Regions from separate parts of the Homo sapiens genome. Here regions 1 and 2 are each linked to region 3. The links are contacts of gene promoters, found by promoter capture Hi-C in blood cells and fetal thymus (Javierre and others, 2016). All regions are on one chromosome and are shown on one strand. Each heading gives the region's core, a stretch centred on a gene start or on the middle of the fragment in contact. The rest is flanking DNA. Distances are from core to core; before and after follow the strand shown.

What was found. Contacts are between HindIII fragments. The CHiCAGO score rates a contact against its expected background, and 5 or more counts as called.
Region 1: a fragment that was not itself captured here is called in contact with the fragment with the promoter of AAGAB in region 3 in 3 of 17 cell types (total CD8 T cells, activated CD4 T cells and non-activated CD4 T cells); the score reaches 7.0 in total CD8 T cells.
Region 2: a fragment that was not itself captured here is called in contact with the fragment with the promoter of AAGAB in region 3 in 3 of 17 cell types (non-activated CD4 T cells, total CD8 T cells and activated CD4 T cells); the score reaches 6.0 in non-activated CD4 T cells.

The regions. Positions count from the first base shown.
Region 1 is chr15:67,026,773-67,030,581 of GRCh38, reverse strand. The region is part of intron 2 of SMAD3-DT (SMAD3 divergent transcript); the gene reads left to right. Among named protein-coding and RNA genes, the nearest start is that of SMAD3-DT, 36 kb to the left of the region's middle. RefSeq lists an enhancer at 1-407. The HindIII fragment of the contact is 2,477 bases long and covers 142-2,618 here.
Region 2 is chr15:67,009,115-67,013,297 of GRCh38, reverse strand. The region is part of intron 2 of SMAD3-DT (SMAD3 divergent transcript); the gene reads left to right. Among named protein-coding and RNA genes, the nearest start is that of SMAD3-DT, 53 kb to the left of the region's middle. The HindIII fragment of the contact is 4,855 bases long and covers 1-4,183 here.
Region 3 is chr15:67,252,674-67,256,812 of GRCh38, reverse strand. It overlaps AAGAB (alpha and gamma adaptin binding protein), which reads left to right and starts at 2,152. Exons shown (of 10, transcript NM_024666.5): 1 at 2,152-2,254. The coding sequence starts at 2,182. It overlaps IQCH (IQ motif containing H), which reads right to left and starts at 2,027. Exons shown (of 21, transcript NM_001031715.3): 1 at 1,866-2,027. The coding sequence starts at 1,916. RefSeq lists an enhancer at 2,092-2,411. The HindIII fragment of the contact is 3,548 bases long and covers 489-4,036 here.

The DNA of each region.
Region 1 (3,809 bases), core at 131-2,630, 230 kb after region 3:
CAGGTGATCACCAGAAAAGAAAGGGGTCAGCAGGTGGGAAGGCCAGGCTTTGTCTGCAGAAGGCCTGAGTTAACTAGCATTTCCTCCAAAGGGCAGCAATGTTACTTTCAAGCACACAGCCTGAACACAACTAGCAAAGCTTTGACAAGCAGAGCTTGGAGAACTGGCTTTAGGAAGAGGTGACCTTGATTTCCCAGGAAGGCCTCAACTGTAAATAAACAGCTGCTTCCAAAGTGCCCTTTCCCTCCCACTTTCTGTGCTCTGCCTGTCTCCTCCCCTCTATCTCCACCTTTCACTCTTCCACATCACACCCTGCGCATGTCTTATCCTTTGGCTCCCTGGAATGCTTCCTGTTATCTTGCCCTGTTGGAGGCCTGAGTTGTCATTAAGGCTGACAGAGGGGCACCCATGGCGGGGAGGGCTTTGGCTTCCAGGAGAGAAGCCTGTAACTGTGGAAAGGAGGCCCCATGAGAGGCCCATTTGGAGTCTTCCCACACTCTCCCCTTCCCACACCCAGCCATCTGCTCAGACACCTGCTGAGTGCACCTGTGAACTCTAGTGTTCTCCCTGCTCTAATTGGGCATCTCCCGAATTGAGCTCATCTTTAACACTGGTCATCTCTAGCGGGGCTTTGGCTTCCAGTGGTATCTCCTGGGCAATAGCCCTGGCCCAGATCCCACTTCTGTCTCATTAATCTTAACTGAGAACTGACAGCTTCTGAGGAGTCCCACCTTCACTGCCAGCCCCAGGTAGGATGGGTCTGCCACCGCCAGTCTGCAGGGCTCAGTGCAGCCTCTTCTGTGAAGGCTTCTCCATACTTTTGAGTCCTTGCTGAATCCCTGTCTTTGAACTCTAAAGCCTTGCCCTTCTCTGTCATAAGAACGATCTGTAGTCATCAATTGAGTCCTCAGTTACAGACTTGAGAAATCAAACCGTTTTTGCATAGTGTAGTGAATAAGAAGGCATTCTTTATAGTCACCAAATTCTGATTCTGCTGAGGAATTTAGGGCAAATGACTTCACCTCTCTGGGCCTCAGTTTCTGCATCTGTAAAATGGGCTACGGGGCAGGGCGCGGTGGCTCATGCCTGTAATCCCAGCACTTTGGGAGGCTGAGGCGGGTGGATCACAAGTTCAGGAGTTCAAGACCAGCCTGGCCAGGATGGTGAAACTATGTCTCTACTAAAAATACAAAAAAATTAGCCCGGCATGGTGGTGGATGCCTGTAATCCCAGCTACTCAGGAGGCTGAGGCAGGAGAATCACTTGAACCTGGGAGGAGAAGGTTGCAGTGAGCCAAGATCGCGCCACTACACTCCAGCCTAGGCGACAGAGCGAGACTCCATCTCAAAAAAAAAAAAAAAAAAAACAAAAAAAGAAAGGCTACGAATAACCATTTTTATGGGGCTACTTATGAGGATTAAATAGGTTATTGCACCACATACCTTGCTGACAGCCTGCCACATAATAAGTGATCAATAAATGGCAGCGTTGTTATTATTTAGAGGGGCACAGATTAAACATGTGCATTCTAGGAACAGATAACTTGCTTTAAAAGTGTTTCATTACTTACCCTCTTTGGGATCTTGGGCAAACTTAACCTTTGTAAGCCTTGGTGTCCTTATCTGTGAAATAAAACTAATAATGTCTATTTTTTCCTTTCCAACTTTTAGGTTCAAGGGATATATGTGCAGGTTTGTTACATAGGTAAATTGCATGTCATAGGGGTTTGGTGTAATTTTATCACCCAAGTAATCAGCATGGTACCTGATAGGTAGTTTTTCAGTCCTCACCCTCCTCCCACCCTTTACTCTCAAGTAGGCCCTGGTGTCTATCATTCTCTTCTTTGTGTCCCTGTGTACTCAATGTTTAGCTCCTACTTATAAGTGAGAATATGTGGTATTTGGTTTACTGTTCCTGCATTAATTCACTTAGGATAATCGACATGATTTCATTCTTTTTTATGGCTGCATAGTATTCCATGGTGTGTATGTACCACATTTTCTTTATTCAGTCCACCACTGATGGGCCTCTAGGTTGATTCCATGTCTTTGCTGTTGTGAATACTGCCGAGATAAACATATGTGTGCATGTGTCTTTATAATAGAACGATTTATATTCCTTTGGGAATATACCTAGAAATGGGATTGCTGGGTCAAATGGTAGTTCTATTTTTAGTTATTTGAGAAATCTCCAGACTGCTTTCCACTGAAAGCAGCTAAACTAATTTACATTCCCACTTTCAGTGCATAAGAGTTCACTTTTCTCTGCAATCTTGCCAGCATCTGCTATTTTTTGATGTTGTAGTAATAGCCATTCTGAAAATGTCTATTTTTAAAGTTGAAGAAACTGAGGCACGGATAGATTAAGTGACTTGCCCCAGCTATGCTAGGACACAAATGGTAGGTATCAAATACAGGAAATGAAGGCTCTAGGGGCTGCTCACTTGACCACTATTGCAGAATGATATGAGTGACACATAATGACACACTCCCCAAAACAGGAGAGTGGAGAGAGATGAGCCATCATTTCTGCTGGGGGTGTGGGAGGAGACAGAGAAAGTTTTAAACAGAAGGTGAAAACTACCCTAGTCCTGGAAAGATAGTGAATGCGGCTAAGCTTGAAATGAGGTTAGAACGTCATCCTAGATGGTTGCATAACAATGCACATGTAGTTAATGTCATAAAACTGCATACTTAAAAAGGGTCAAAATGGTAAAAGTCATTATTTATTTATTTATTTATTTATTTTGAGATGGAGTTTCGCTCTGTCGCCCAGGCTGGAGTGCAGTGGTGCAATCTCAGCTCACTGCAAGCTCCACCTCCCGGGTTCACACCATTCTCCTGCCTCAGCCTCCTGAGTGACTGGGACTACAGGCACCCACCACCATGCCCGGCTAATTTTCATATTTGTAGTAGATACAGGGTTTCACCATGTTAGCCAGGATGGTCTCAATCTCCTGACCTCGTGATCTGCCCGCCTCAGCCTCCCAAAGTGCTCCTGCGCCTGGTTGGGTAATAAGTCATTTTTAAAAAAATTGTTTAATGAAAAAAAAATTAACTTACATTTTTCTTAAAAGTAACAATTTAATGATATGTATTTTCTGTGAACATTCAAGAAATAGAAATCACCAAGAAAAAAATAAATAAAATAATTTGTTATTCTGCCATTCAGATCTAAACAATGTTATTTTGGTGCTTAAATCTTCAGAGGTTTTTTCATATATTCACTTCAAATATTATTTACCAACAATGGAAGTTTATTTATTTATTTATGTTTGTTTGTTTTTTTTGAGACATAGTCTCACTCTGTGGCCCAGGCTGGAGTGCAATGGCGTGATCTCTGCTCACTGCAACCTCTGCCTCCCAGGTTCAAGCAATTTTCCTGCCTTAGTCTCTCGAGTAGCTGGGATTACAGGTGCCTACCATCATGCCCAGCTAATTTTTATATTTTTAGTAGAGACAGGGTTTCGCCGTGTTGGCCAGGCTGGTCTCGAACTCCTGGCCGCAAGCAATCTGCCTGCCTCGGCCTCCCAAACTGCTGGGATTACAGACGTGAGCCACTGTGCCCAGCCTGTATTTGTATATATGCAGTTTTGTAACTTACTTCTTCCACTTACAAAATGATAAATTTTCCATGTCATTAAGTTTAAAAAAAGAAAAAAAAAAGGGCAAGTCATATCAGGTAGGAGGACTGGCATGAGCAAAGGCATAGAGGTACGATAATGCAAAGGAATTCTGGAAAAAGTGAGGCGCCCAGAGCAGCTGGAGCACAAATTGCAAGGAAGAATGTAGTGGGAAGTGTCAACCCTG
Region 2 (4,183 bases), core at 549-3,048, 240 kb after region 3:
ATCCAGCCTGGGAGCCACATGTGCCCAACTAACTTGTTTTAAGTCCATTCAGCAAGGTGGGGCTCGAGATCCAGGCAACAGAGGAAGTAACGAATGGAATGGACATAAAGTTGGTGGATACATGAAAGGTATCATTGTTAATAATATTGTTCCCCTGTTCAGCACATGTTTTAGTCAAGCACCAATTATTAGCAAGGCACAGAGGCACAGTGCTCCAGCTATGTCTGCCAGGCTATGTGCCAGTCACTTTACATGGAATTTCATTTCATCTTTACATCCACCCTATGAGGTGGTGAAGTGGACACCAGGATCTACAAGCTCCCTTTTTTGGGAATTTGGACCCCTCCCCCATCACATGGGTGAGTCCCTGAGGCCACGTTTGTACCTAGTGGTCCCGCCTTATGGTCATAGGTGATTAGATTAGGAGTGGGCATGTGGCTCAAGCTGGGCCAATCAGGTTCTCTTTGTGGAGAATTTATTTATTTATGGAGATGGAATCTCACTCTGTCACCCAGGCTGGAGTGCAGTGGCGTGATCTCGGCTCACTGCAACCCCTGCCTCCCGGGTTCAAGCAATTCTTCGGCCTCAGCCTCCCTAGTAGCTGGGCCTACAGGAGTGCCTCACCACGCCCTGCTAATTTTTATATTTTTAGTAGAGACAGGGTTTTGCCATGTTGGCCAGACCAGTCTTGAACTCCTGACCTCAAGTGATCCACCCGCCTTGGTTTCCCAAAGTGCTGGGATTCTTTTTTTTTTTTTTTTTTTTTTTTGAGATGAAGTCTCAGTCTGTCACCCAGGCTGGAGTGCAGTGGTGCGATCTGGGCTCACTGCAACCTCTGCCTCCTGGGTTCAAGAGATTCCCGGGAGGCAGAGTGTGTGTGTGGAGGATCTCGGGTGCGGAGTAGCCACCACACTCAGCTACTTTTTGTATTTTTAGTAGAGATGGGGTTTTGCCATGTCGGTCAGGCTCGTCTCAAACTCCTGACTTCGGGTGATCCACCCACCTCAGCCTCCCAAAGTGCTGGGCTTACAGACATGAGCCACTGCGCCCAGCCAAGTGCTGGGATTCTTTGTGGAGAGTTTAGAATTGAGATGTCATATTAACTGAGGCTTATCAGAACTGAGGGGTTGAGGGGGAGAAGAGAGTAATGCAGCAGGTAGCTGAGGGTGGTAGAGAGGCTGGTGGCCTTCCTGTCCAGGTTCTAAGCAAAGTCTGGTTGCTTTCCCTCCTGGGCCCCTCCAGGCTTGCTACATTCTTATGATGCATTCTGGTTTTGCCTAAGCTAGCTTGAGCCAGTTTCTGTCACTTGCATCCAAAGAGTCCTCGGTAGAACAGCGAGTTCCATGATGGCAAGGGACTGGGTCTTGTTCACTAAAGTGTCCTTAGGACCTGGTACATAAAAAGGGCTCCATAAATGTTAGTTGAATTAATAAAAAGTGGAGGTTCCGAGAAGTTAATTGATTTGGACCCGAGCCTCACAGTAAGTAACAGCTGGACTTTGAACTGGGTCTACCGGCTTCAGAGCATGTGCCTTTTCTGCCATACCAGGCTGGCTTTTATAAATTGTTCTCCTTATTATTATATTAAAATCACAGGTAGTCAGAACTAGAGTGAACCTGAAGACTAGTAAGTTTTATTGTTTTGTAGACGAGAAATTGGGGCCTAGGGAGGGGAAATGGCAGAAGTTTCTTGATTCTCATGCAGCTACCTAACCCGAGCTGACGTTTAATTATCATGTGTGTGACACTGCTGTGCTTGCTGTTTGAGTACTGAAATGTTTTCATACCAGTTGATGACTAGCAGCTGCCTCAAGCCCTTAGTGTCCCCTCCTCTGTAGCCCCAGCCTTCAGAACCCCCGGGCTTCCATTATCCACAAGCAAAGGGGTTGTGCTGAGTCCAGCACGGCTCTCCAGGTCTATTCTGATTGGTCAGTATCTGTGCCACTCGACCTGTTAAATATCAGCCTTGAATTTACCTAGTGTGATTTGAAGAGTTCTGGTTACTTTGTCTCTCCATTAAAGAGAAGTGGGGATTTTAAAATATAGCAAAAATAGCATTGCTATCCTTCCCCTCTGCCTCCCATGGCAGCTCAAATTCTACTGTTCAGAAACATTTCATGTATCCACTCACCCCTTCATTCCACAAATATTTACTGGGTGCCGATTCTGTGACAGGCTTTTGGCCCCCAGGAGCTCTTGTTCCCCACCACCTAAAATGTAAATTCCCCTGGGGAGGGAGGAATCTGAAGTTGGTATGGCCTGCATGCCATGGGGGTGATTTGGTAGTGGCAGGGATGACCCACTGGGCTGGCTTAGCCACCTGCAAAAGGTCAGCAACAAACAGGCAGACCAAAAGAAGTAATCGAGAGGGAGAAAGATAATACAGAAATAAACAACTGTATTTCAGCACATGTGTAAGTTGCATGGCACATCAAAACACCAACATTTAGGCCAGGCACGGTGGTTTACACCTATAATCCCAGCACTTTGGGAGGCCAAGGCAGGCGCGGATCACTTGAGGTCAGGTGTTCGAGACCAGTCTAGCCAACATGGTGAAACCCTGTCTCTACTAAAAATACAAAAAGTTAGCCAGGTGTGGTGGCAGCCGCCTATAATCCCAACTACTGGGGAGGCTGAGACAGGAGAATTGCTTGAGCCTAGGAGGAAGAGGTTGCAGTGCGCCGAGATTGCACCACTGCACTCTAGCCTGGGTGATGGAGTGAGACTCTGTCTCAAAAACAAACAAACAAACGACAACAAGAAAAAGCACCAACATTTATTTTATGAATTGGTGATGTTATTCTTTTGATTTACATATGTTGGAGGTAGATGGCATAATGGGCCTTCAGGGGTTGGGGCTCTAAAGATCTTAGCTGGGTTGAGCTGGCAGGCAGTGGAGGGCAAATTGCATGATCACAGATCTGGGCTGGACACCTGGGCTGAGCTGACGTTCTAGGAGGAGGAGTGAAGAATCCAATATGTGTTAAGGATGTCTACGTGCCTGTCCCATCCTAGGAATTTATATGTAGTATCTCATTACACTTCAAACAGCACTAGGTAGTAGATTTTATGATTCCATTTTACTGATGGAGGAAACTGAGATTCAGGATTTCTAAGCAGTTTTCACAAGGCGACATTACTAGTAATTAATGGAATTGGGATTTGCACCTGGATCTGGCATTTGGTAAATATTTGTTGAAAGAATGATCTTTCTGGCTCCAAAGTCCATGCCCTGTTACTACAGTTGAGAGAAAACCACCACCCCACACAAATATTAATAATAGCTGGCACTTATAGAGTACTGACTAAATGCTAAGCACTGTTCCAAGCACTTTATATATGTCAACTCATTTACACCTCATTTGACAGGTGAGGAAGCCAAGGCATAGAGAGATAAGTCGCCCAAGGTCTCAGAAGTGGCACACGGTGTAGCCCATGTTTAATCCAGCTGTCTGGCTGCAGGTCAGCCCTGAGCCTCTCTATACCATCCTGCCTGTTTCCCACAGCCCCACCCATTCAGGGTTTGATGATTTCATTTTCTTTTCACTAGTTTGGTAAGCATGCACTGATACCCAGAGCTTGTGTGTTTGCATTCCTCTTGTTTCTGGTAGAACTATGTACTTTTTCATGTTTTGATTTACCATCTGTGCTTCCTGTGTAAACTGTCTGTTCACCTCCTTTGTTGCTTACGGAGTGGAATCTGGGCACTGATTTTAGCTTTTTGTAAAAAAGCAAAAATTAATAAATTTTAGATGTATCGCTGGTTGGTTATTTCTTCCAGGCTGTTATTTTCCTCTTGTGACTGTCCTATATTTTATTCAATAAAAGTTTCCTATTTTTTAATTGATTTTTTTTGTCTCTGATTATGGATTTTCTTCCAATACGATCAATGTGGGATTGCATGTTCAAGTCTTTTTTATGGTTTGTTTTTCAGACAGGAACATAATCTCATGCAATTTATTGCAGAAAATGGTACAAAGTGTGAGTAACTCTTCTCCACATTACAATTCTCTCCAAATCATTTATTATATGATAATTATTTTCTTCACTGGATTGTTGAACTATTTTTAGTTTTACTATATATTGGATTAATTTGGGATAGTTTAATCTTTTCCATTGATCATTTTTTCCCCATTGTTACCATATAGTTTGGATAATTGTCACTTTGTAATATGTTATGAAAT
Region 3 (4,139 bases), core at 903-3,402:
ATGTCCACAGGAATCCTTTTAAATAAGTAGGGGTGCAGATCAACATGGATATGACTATTAGCTCTTCTGACCCATCTCACAAGTCAGTGTCAACAGTTATCTATTACTATAATGTTGTATCCTAGGTAAGAGTCTCCATTATTGTTCTAATTATTTGGAATCTATAAAAAGAGTGGGTATGTGCAGCAAAGAATTAACCTTACCCAAAGAGGGGTCCAGTCTTCGCTCCTGGCTACTGGGAGGTGATCTCTAGGCGCCTGGGATGTCCTGCCTGATAGAAGTGTCTTTGTCTGTGGGCTTTGGCCACCAGACAGTCTATCAACATGATTTATAATGGGTGTTTTGATCCACGCTGTATCAGCTCAGACCTCTGGAGCAGCGGGAAACTAAAAGTATTCAGGAGGGGCTGGAGATTAATGGTCAACCACAAGGGCAGTGTGAGATTGAGCCCCAGTAAAAACTCTGGACATCAAAGCCTCAGATAAGCTTCTCTAGTTGCAATATTCTATGCATATTGTCACATATCATGGCTGGGAGGAAGTAATGCAGGTAATGACGTCAATGACTCCACAGGGATAAGATGACCAAAAGCTCTATGTTTGTACCCCTCCTGGACTCTGTCCTATTCATCTCTTTCCTTGGCTGATTAATTTGTATGCCTTCACTATAATAAAATTGGAGATGTGAGCACAGCACTTCCCTGAGCTCTGCGAATAGTTCTAGTGAATCATTGAATGTGAGGGTGGTGATGGGGCCCCTAAGTTTGTACCCAGCTGGTCTGAAGTGAGGTGGTTCTGGGGACCCCTGAACTTGCAGGTAGTGAGTGTTGAAGTTAGGGCAGTTTTTTGTGGACCGTTCCCTCAGACTTCGCAGTTTGGCTAAACTCATTGCTGCGTGATGGTGAAAGTGAGGGTGAGAAAAGATCAGGTAAGATTAGGTATGATTCTTAATGGGGAAGTCTATGAAATTGGTGAGTTCAGGGGCTTGTATTTGGGAAAAGGTACATTTAGGGAAGTCTCTCCTAGATGGGAGGTAAGAGATCAAAATTCTGCCAGAAAAATTAGATCCCTTTGACGAGTAAGACCCACTTCAGACCAACTGAGTGACAGTCCTGACAGAGTGACCTTAGACAAATGACTTCAAGACTTAGTCAAATGCAGCTATTATATATGTGATAGTTAAAACCGATGATATATGTGGAAATATCTTAAAGTTACCTCACATAAATGTGAAAACAAAATGCCATGATCATTTCAGAAACATCTGAGTGCAACTATTACAAATTGAGCTGTATTGGACAAGACTTTCTTGACATTTCCCCTCTCAAATTAAAAAGGTCTTTCACTAAGTTTTTAAATGTCACATTTTTTCATTCCAAGTTATCTTGATTTTTCTGTGTGTTCTCCAATGAGGAACATTTAGATCTAAAAAACTGGGGTGTTTAAGAAAAGCAATTCACATATTTCAATTTGTCTCCAAATTTCTTATCACCTCCTAGAGTGTCCGATTTGTCTCTCCTCCACTCCCGACGTCATGGGTTCAAATTTTTCAGAATATAACATTTAAAAATGATGCCTCAGCGTGAGGTTAATTTTTCTGAAGTAAAGGTTCCGGGTGAACGGTTTTAGAGTTTTCCCAGAGGCAGAAAGTCCTGCTTCTGGGGCGTAACCTACAGGGTAAGTCACCGGGAGTGTGCTGGGCCGTGGGGGAAGGTCTGGGTGGGCATTTTTGGGAGCCTCTCGCGAGTTGGAGGGAGTCTAGGGGCGGCGCACCAAATGGGTGAGCGTCGGTGAATCGGCGCGCGGGACCTCGCTCGGAAGTGGCGCGGCTGGGCAGGGCAGGGCCGGGGGAAGCCCGTTTCCCACCTGGATTAAGATGGATCCGACAGGGTCGTGGTTTTCAGTGTTCTGTGCCATGGCTAGGTCAGGGAACGGCTACCTCCGCGGAGGCGCGGTTTCCAAGCACGGAAACCTTCAGCCGGAGCCGCTCGTCCCCATGGCAACACCGCGCGCGACCTGGCCTGTTCCACGCTGGGAGCGGAAGGGGGTCTAGGGGCGGGGTCAGGCCAGCCTGGTCATTCCGAGAACGCCCTCTCCGGCCTGTCTCCCCCTCGCGCCGGCGGCCGTGGTGCAGCCCAAGGCGGAAGCGGCTGCCTGACGGAACCGGCTCGCGAGCGCAGCTATGGCTGCTGGCGTACCCTGTGCGTTAGTCACCAGCTGCTCCTCCGTCTTCTCAGGAGACCAGCTGGTCCAACGTGAGTAGATAGGCGCCTGGGCCGACCTCCAAGGCCCCTGAGCCTCAGCGGGCGACGGACCCAGCACCACGGCCTCTCTGGGCCTTGTCCCCGCAGCGGGCCCTGCGTTCTTCCTCCAGTCAGTGGAGGCGCCCAGTCTCCCCAGGTGGCTGCCCCTATCTCTTAATCTCGTGCTTTTCTGCCCACTCGGCCTTCTTCGGCGTTCCTTTCGGCTTCCTGTGTAAAGTGAGACTGATTTCCCGCTCTGCTCAGCCCAGGCCACAGGTTTTTGCGAGGATCCGTTGAGATGAACCTGAAGGCTCTCCGGAAATTGCGCTAGGTTACAGGAGTGTAAGGTGCTGGAATTGTTGATATCGTGATGTTGTTATCCTTGCTGCTCCGGGAGAGAGTGTTTACTCTGAATTCTGAAGTTTATTCTGCGTATTTACTCTGAAGTTTATTCTGCTTCTTAATGTGTACATTATAAGACTTGTTAGCTTTGTCCGCTCCACTCTAGTTATTCACGCCTTTCATCTGAGGCATGGGCTCTCCGCCAACATGAGTTTTTGGGTATGATTGGGCTAGTGCTTTTGCTTGTAGACCCTCATAATGGCTGTCAGACTTACTAACTCTTAAAAGAGAGAACATGGGACTGGATAATAAGCCAACTCTACTAAAGGGCTCTGTGAAGTTGAATTATAGGTAACTCAAGACTTCTGTTTTAAGTGTATGGCTTAGAATCAGAGCAGTGACTTAGCTGTATGATCTCGAGCAAGTCACCTAACCTACCTACATTCCTTCCTTCTTTTCTTTTTTTTTTTTTAAAGAGACGGGAACTTGCTCTGTCGCCCGGGCTGGAGTGCAGTGATGCGATCATAGCTCACTTCAGCCTCGAACTCCTGGGCTCAAGCGATCCTCCTGCCTCAGTCTCCCGAGCAACTGGGACTGCAGGCTCACACCACGAACCCTGGCTAATTTTTTTATTTTTTGTAGAGCCAGAGTCTTGCTATGTTGCTCAGGCTGGTCTCCAACTCGTGGTTTCAAGTGATCCTCCTGTCTTGGCCGCCCTAAGTGCTGAGATTACAGGCGTGAGCCACTGTGCCTGGCTACCCTTCACTTTCTCTTTTCTCTCCTTTTTTTTATTTTTGTTTTGAGATAGGGTCTCACTCTGCTGCCCAGGCTGTAGTGCAGTGGCGTTATCTCGGCTCACTGCAACCTCTGCCTCCTGGGCTCAAGCCATCCCCCTACCTCAGCCTCCCAAGTATCTGGGACTACAGGTGTGTGCCACCACGCCCGGCTAATTGCCCCCCCCCCCCCCCGTCATACGGGGTTTGGCCATGTTGCCCAGGCTGGTCTGGAACTCCCGGGCTCAAGTGATCTGCCTGCCTTTGCCACCCAAAGTGCTGGGATTACAGGTGTGAGTCACCACCGCGCCCGGCCCCTTCACCTTCTATCTATAAAATAGGGATAATTTTCGCAAGATTGTGCTTATCCCCGAGTCTGGCACATAGTAAACATTTGATAAATCATAGACATTATTATTAAGGCACATTACTATCTCTGTAACCCTCAATTTCCTGATCCTTAAAATGGGGCATATGAGCCTATTTCAGGAGTATTTGAAGGACAGATGATGTGACATTTTGAACACACTTTGTAAACTGTAAAGCATTGTATAATTATAATTTCTTTGCTACACCTGTCAAATGACAGAATTAGGTAAGATGTCCCTTCAGTGCAGATATTATATGACTTAGTTATCATTTGTGATCACTTAGAAAGTTCCTTGCTAGGGTAAAAGCTTAATTATAGCATTTAACTAAGTGGTTACTAACTGGTCTAATTAGGCCATTTTCTTACCTTTAAGCAGTGCTCCTTCCTATTTTCTCCCTTCCCTCCTTTCTTC